2 separate regions of the Homo sapiens genome follow, and region 2 is linked to region 1. The links are contacts of gene promoters, found by promoter capture Hi-C in human tissues and cell types (Jung and others, 2019). All regions are on one chromosome and are shown on one strand. Each heading gives the region's core, a stretch centred on a gene start or on the middle of the fragment in contact. The rest is flanking DNA. Distances are from core to core; before and after follow the strand shown.

The links. The method cuts DNA at HindIII sites, captures the fragments that hold promoters and counts their contacts. A contact is called where the count stands out against the background at its distance.
Region 2: a fragment that was not itself captured here is called in contact with the fragment with the promoter of MRPL4 in region 1 in 1 of the 25 tissues and cell types used here (hippocampus).

Annotation. Positions count from the first base shown.
Region 1 is chr19:10,250,659-10,253,498 of GRCh38, reverse strand. MRPL4 (mitochondrial ribosomal protein L4) reads right to left here and starts at 1,285. Exons shown (of 9, transcript NM_015956.3): 1 at 1,189-1,285; 2 at 1,036-1,102; 3 at 798-948. The coding sequence starts at 1,245. RefSeq lists enhancers at 783-1,356, 1,213-1,622, 1,753-1,902, 1,357-1,930. The HindIII fragment of the contact is 13,002 bases long and covers 1-2,840 here.
Region 2 is chr19:10,015,134-10,017,833 of GRCh38, reverse strand. It overlaps RDH8 (retinol dehydrogenase 8), which reads right to left. Exons shown (of 6, transcript NM_015725.4): 2 at 619-777. Among named protein-coding and RNA genes, the nearest start is that of RDH8, 3.0 kb to the right of the region's middle. RefSeq lists an enhancer at 1-72. The HindIII fragment of the contact is 3,864 bases long and covers 1-2,700 here.

The DNA.
Region 1 (2,840 bases), core at 36-2,535:
CTTTTCTTTCTTTTTTTTTTTTTTTTTTGAGACAGAGTGTTGCCCAGGATGGAGTGCAGTGGCGCGATCTCGGCTCACTGCAAGCTCCGCCTCCCGGGTTCACGCCATTCTCTTGCCTCAGCCTCCAGAGTACCTGGGACTACAGACGCCCGCCACCACGCCCGGCTAATTTTTTTTTGTATTTTTAGTAGAGACGGGGTTTCACCATGTTAGCCAGGATGGTCTCGATCTCCTGACCTCGTGATCCGCCCGCCTTGGCCTCCCAAAGTGCTGGGATTACAGGCGTGAGCCACTGCGCCCAGGGTGGCCCCTACATTTTCTTAGAGATGTTATGAACAGCAGGGTAACTAAAATGCAAACAGCCTCTTCCAGGCACCGAGGAATGGTTTAGTCTTTTTAGTGCTCTTATTTGCAAAAACCAGTTAACAAAGATTATCAACATTTCTATAGAACTTATTATGTGCCAGAATTAAGTCATTTATTCATCACAGCAACCTCCCGACCGCTGACAAAATAGGGACACTGAGGGACAAGAGGGGAAGGCAGGATTTGAACCTAATCAGTCGGGCTCCAGAATTCTGTCTCCCTAACCCTTAGATGATGTCACCTCTCAGGCTTCAATCTCACACAGCGCTACAGCAGGGGAAACTGTCATCATTCCCCTTTGACAGGTGGAGAAACGGAGGCTGTAGAAATACAGCACTTTCCCAAGGGTACAAGCCCAAAGTCATCGTGACTCCTGAAATCCCGCTCTTCATCCCTCTGCCACTCAGTTCACCATTACAGCCCTCGCTCACCTGGGCGCGGTGGCGAAAACATCGGGGTGCAGGTCGGCCAGGCCCACGCGCTCCTGCTCGAAGCCCCGCAAGGACTCGACCCAGGCCTGCACTGGGCGTCGATGAGTGGGTACCGGGAGCTCGACTTTGCGCAGCACGGGCTCCGGGAGACCTGGAGCGATTGCGGGGGTCAGAGGTTAGGGTCAAGGGTCAGACCTCTCTGTCGCCGCCCCTCCTGGAGCCACCCCGGTTGCCTTACCCTCGCTCGCCACCTGCTCCGGGTTCTCGGTCGCACGCGCTGCCTCTTCCGCCAGGGAACTCAGGCCCTGCAAGGGTTGGGCGAAAGTGAGAGACGACCCCTGGACACCCCCAAATTTCATCCTTCGACCACGCCTCCAGCCCCTGGCCTCACCTGGCTGCCGGTAGGCCGAAGCCAGGCCCGCGCCCCGGCCCGGACGAACTGCAGCATCGCCGCGCAGCCTCCCACGCCGCGGGAGGTCAAGGCCACTGGAGCCTCGCGAGGCGCCGCTGGATGACGTCACGCACGCGACGCCGCCCTACCCGCCGCGACTCCGCGCTGGAAAGCGGGGTGTGCAAAACCGAAGATGGAGGGGGTCCGACCCGGCGTGCCCAGACCTCCACCCCAGGACTAACCCCCAGACCCAATTTTCACTCCTGCCTCAAGGACCCTCCGTAACACTGGGGAACGCGACCTCACAGCAAGAAGACCCAGCTTCCGTAGGCCTAGCCTACTTTGGGTCCCGCCTCCGACGAGCCGGTGCAGGAATTCAGCCAATGAGACCTCTCTGGCCCAATTCAGCCAATGACTGTTAAGCCTGAAGGAGTGACCCCCGCCCATAAGTGGGCAGTTCTGGAGTGAGCAACTAAGGAATACAGCCAATAACGCTTAAACTTTTGCTGTTGGTCACGCCCACCGGGCCACGCCTTCATCCCGCCTCCAAGGCTGTCGGAGATGGTTTTTTCTTTATCCAGTTATGTGGTTTTGTTTTTTTATTTGTTTTTTTGTTTTTGTTTTTGTTTTTGTTTTTGTTTTTTTTGAGACGGAGTCTTGCTCTGTTGCCCAGGCTGGAGTGCAGTGGCGCGATCTCGGCTCACTGCAAGCTCCGCCTCCTGGGTTCACGCCATTCTCCTGCCTCAGCCTCCCGAGTAGCTGGGACTGCAGGCGCCCGCCACCACGCCTGGCTAATTTTTTGTATTTTTAGTAGAGACGGGTATCACCGCGTTAGCCAGGATGGTCTCGATCTCCTGACCTCGTGATCCTCCCGCCTCAGCCTTCCAAAGTGCTGGGATTACAGGCGTGAGCCACCGTGCCTGGCGTTTTTTCATTTGTTTAAAGGCAGGGCCTTATTGCCCTCAGAAAGCCTTCAGGATTGGGCCTGCCAGACCATGCCTCCCAGTTTAGATTCCCCAGGGCAGGGCCATGTCCCCCCGAAACCCCTCAGATTAGGTATTTGTGTCCCTTACCCCCTAGACCAGGGTCCTCTCCCCTACCCCCTTAAACCAGGTCCCGTCCCCTCTCAGACCTTCCAGGGCTCTCCAAGGACAGAACAAAGTGGGGAGTCCACAGATCCTGGAGTGCCTCCCTTGTCGCCCCCTAACAAATCCGAATGCTTATTTTTAGTTTCTTTGTTTTGGTTTTTAGAGACAAGGTCTTCCTCTGTCGCCCAGGCTGGAGTGCAATGGGCAAGATCATGGCTTACTGCAGCCTCGACCTCCAGAGCTCAAGGGATTCTCCTGCCTCTGTCTCCTGAGTAGCTGGTCTACAGGTACGCAAGCCCGGCTCATTTTTGTATTGTATTTTTTTATTTTGTATTTGTATTTTGAGATGGAGTATCGCTCTGTCGCCCAGGCCGGAGTGCAGTGGTGTGAGATCGCACATCTCGGCCTCCCGGGTTCAAGCGATTCCCTGCCTCAGCTTACCGAGTAGCTGGGACTACAGGCGCCCGCCACCACACCTGGCTAACTTTTTGTATTTTTAGTAGAGAGGGGGTTTCACCGTGTTAGCCAGGATGGTCTCAATCTCCTGACCTCGTGATCCGCCCG
Region 2 (2,700 bases), core at 38-2,537, 240 kb after region 1:
TCTCTAAGAAAAATACAAAAATTAGCTGGGCATGGTGGCAGGCACCTGTAATCCCAGCTACTCAGGAGGCGAGGCAGGAGAATTGCTTGAACCTGGGAGGTGGAGGTTGCAGTGAGCCGAGATCACGCCACTGCACTCCAGCCTGGGCGCAGAGCAAGACTCCGTCTCAAAAAAAAAATTATTTTTGAGACAAGGTCTTACTCTGTCTCCCCAGACTGGCTCTGTCATAACTCACTGCAGCCTCAAACTCCTGGGCTCAAGGGATCCTCCCACCTTGGCCTCCCGAGTAGCTGGGATTAGGCATGCACCACTATGACTGGCTAATTTTTAATTTTTTTGTAGAGTCAGAGTCTCACTATTTTGCTGAGGCTGGTCAATCCTCCTGTCTCGGCCTCCCAAAGTGCTAGGATTACAGGTATGAGCCACTGCACCCAGCCCTTAATAAATCAATTGGTAGGACCAACTGGTCTACCCCTCTTGGCCAACTGGTCTACCCCTTCTGCCCAGGTTCAGAGATTGCTGAAGAAGCCAGAGAGCTGGTGCTCAGACCTTGCCATATTGAGGGTCTATACTCAGACCAGGATGGGGCTTAGTGAATCAGGGGCTGTGAAGTCTCACCCAGCACGTCCACTTCTCCCTGGATACAGCTGAGACACTGGGCCACCGACTCATCACTGCACACGTCCAGCTGGGCCACGGTGAGGGTCTGCCCCAGAGCCTCCCCAGCAGCTGCCTCCAGTGTCTCCTTCTTCCCCAGGTCCCTCATGGTGGCCACGACTGCGGGGCAGAGAGTAAAGCAGGGACAGGCACTGAGCTCCTTTCCCCTTGGTGTGGGCGCCACGTGTCTGTGATCTTGCGTTACAAGTCACAGAGAGATGGAAACTCACAAGTTTACACACCTACATTTATCACTCAGCCAACAAGTGCACACTTGTGTACACGCATCTCCACGTACCTATATCCATCCTTCCAACCATGAGTTCAACAGACATTTATTGAGCATCTACTATACACTATGCCCTATTCTAGGTGCTGAGGCTATGGCATGAAATAAGATAAAGTCACCAGGTGTGGTGGCTCAAGCCTGTAATCCCAGCACGTTGGGAAGCTGAGGTGGGAGGATTGCTTGACCCCAGGAGTTTGAGACCAGCCTGGGAAGTATAGCGAGATCCCATCTCTACAAAAAAATTATATTTTACAAATTTGCCAGGTGTGGTGGGTGGCCCCCACCTGTAGTCCTGGCTACTTGGGAGGCTGTGGTGGGAGGATTGCTTGAGCCCAGGAGGTTGAGGCTGCAGTGAGCCGAGATGGAGCCACTGCACTACCGTCTGGGTGAGAGAGTGAGACCCTGTCTCAAAAAATAAAAAATAAGGCCGGGCGGCCTGGCGCGGTGGCTCACGCCTGTAATCCCAGCACTTTGGGAGGCCGAGGTGGGCAGATCACGAGGTCAGGAGATCGAGACCATCCTGGCTAACATGGTGAAACCCCGTCTCTACTAAAAATACAAAAAAAAAAAAAAATTAGCCTGGCGTGGTGGCAGGCGCCTGTAGTCCCAGCTACTTGGGAGGCTGAGGCAGGAGAATGGCGTGAACCCGGGAGGCGGAGCTTGCAGTGAGCCGAGATAGCGCCACTGCACTCCAGCCTGGCAACAGAGCGAGACTGTCTCAAAATAAATAAATAAATAAATAAATAAATAAATAAATAAATAAGATAAAGTTTCTGCCTTCATGGAATTTATAGCCTAGTAGGTAAGACAATAAAATATATAAACATAAAACAGATTGCCATGAAAAAAATGCATACACAACTATAGCCAACATATGTGCATATATGAACACTGAAGTGAATAGCCATATATATATATATATTTTTTTTTTGAGACGAAGTTTCACTCTTGTTTGTTGCCCAGTCTGGAGTACAGGGGTGCAATCTCGGCTCACTGCAACCTCCACCTCCTGGGTTCAAGCAATTCCCCTGCCTCAGCCTCCCGAGTAGCTGGGATTACAGGGGTACAGGTGCCTGCCACCACACCTGGCTAATCTTTTGTATTTTTAGTAGAGACGGGGTTTCACCATATTGGTCAGCCTGGTCTCGAACCTCAGGTGATCTGCCCACCTCATCCTCCCAAAGTGCTGGGATTACAGGCGTGAGGAGCCAGAGAGCCACAGCACCTGGCCAAGCTTTTATGCCCTTTTTTTTTTTTTTGAGACGGAGTCTCGCTCTTGGTGCCCAGGCTGGAATACAGTGGTGAAATCTCAGCTCACTGCAACCTCTGTCTCCCGGTTCAAGCAATTCTCCTGCCTTAGCCTCTCAAGTAGCTGGGATTATAGGCACTGCCACCATGCCTGGCTAATTTTTGTATATTTATTTATTTATTTATTGAGACAGAGTCATGCTCTGTCGCTTAGGCTGGAGTGCAGTGGCATGATCTCGACTCACTGCAAGCTCCACCCCACAGGTTCACGCCATTCTTCTGCCTCAGCCTCCCGAATAGCTGGGACTACAGGCATCCACCACCACGCCTGGCTAATTTTTTGTATTTTTAGTAGAGACGGGGTTTCACCATGTTGGCCAGGCTGGTCTCAAACTCCTGATCTCAGGTGATCTGTCCACCTAGGCCTCCCAAAGTGCTGAGATTACAGGCATGAGCCACTGTGCCCAGCCTCAAGCTTATGTTCTTAAGCAGGACCTCAGCATATG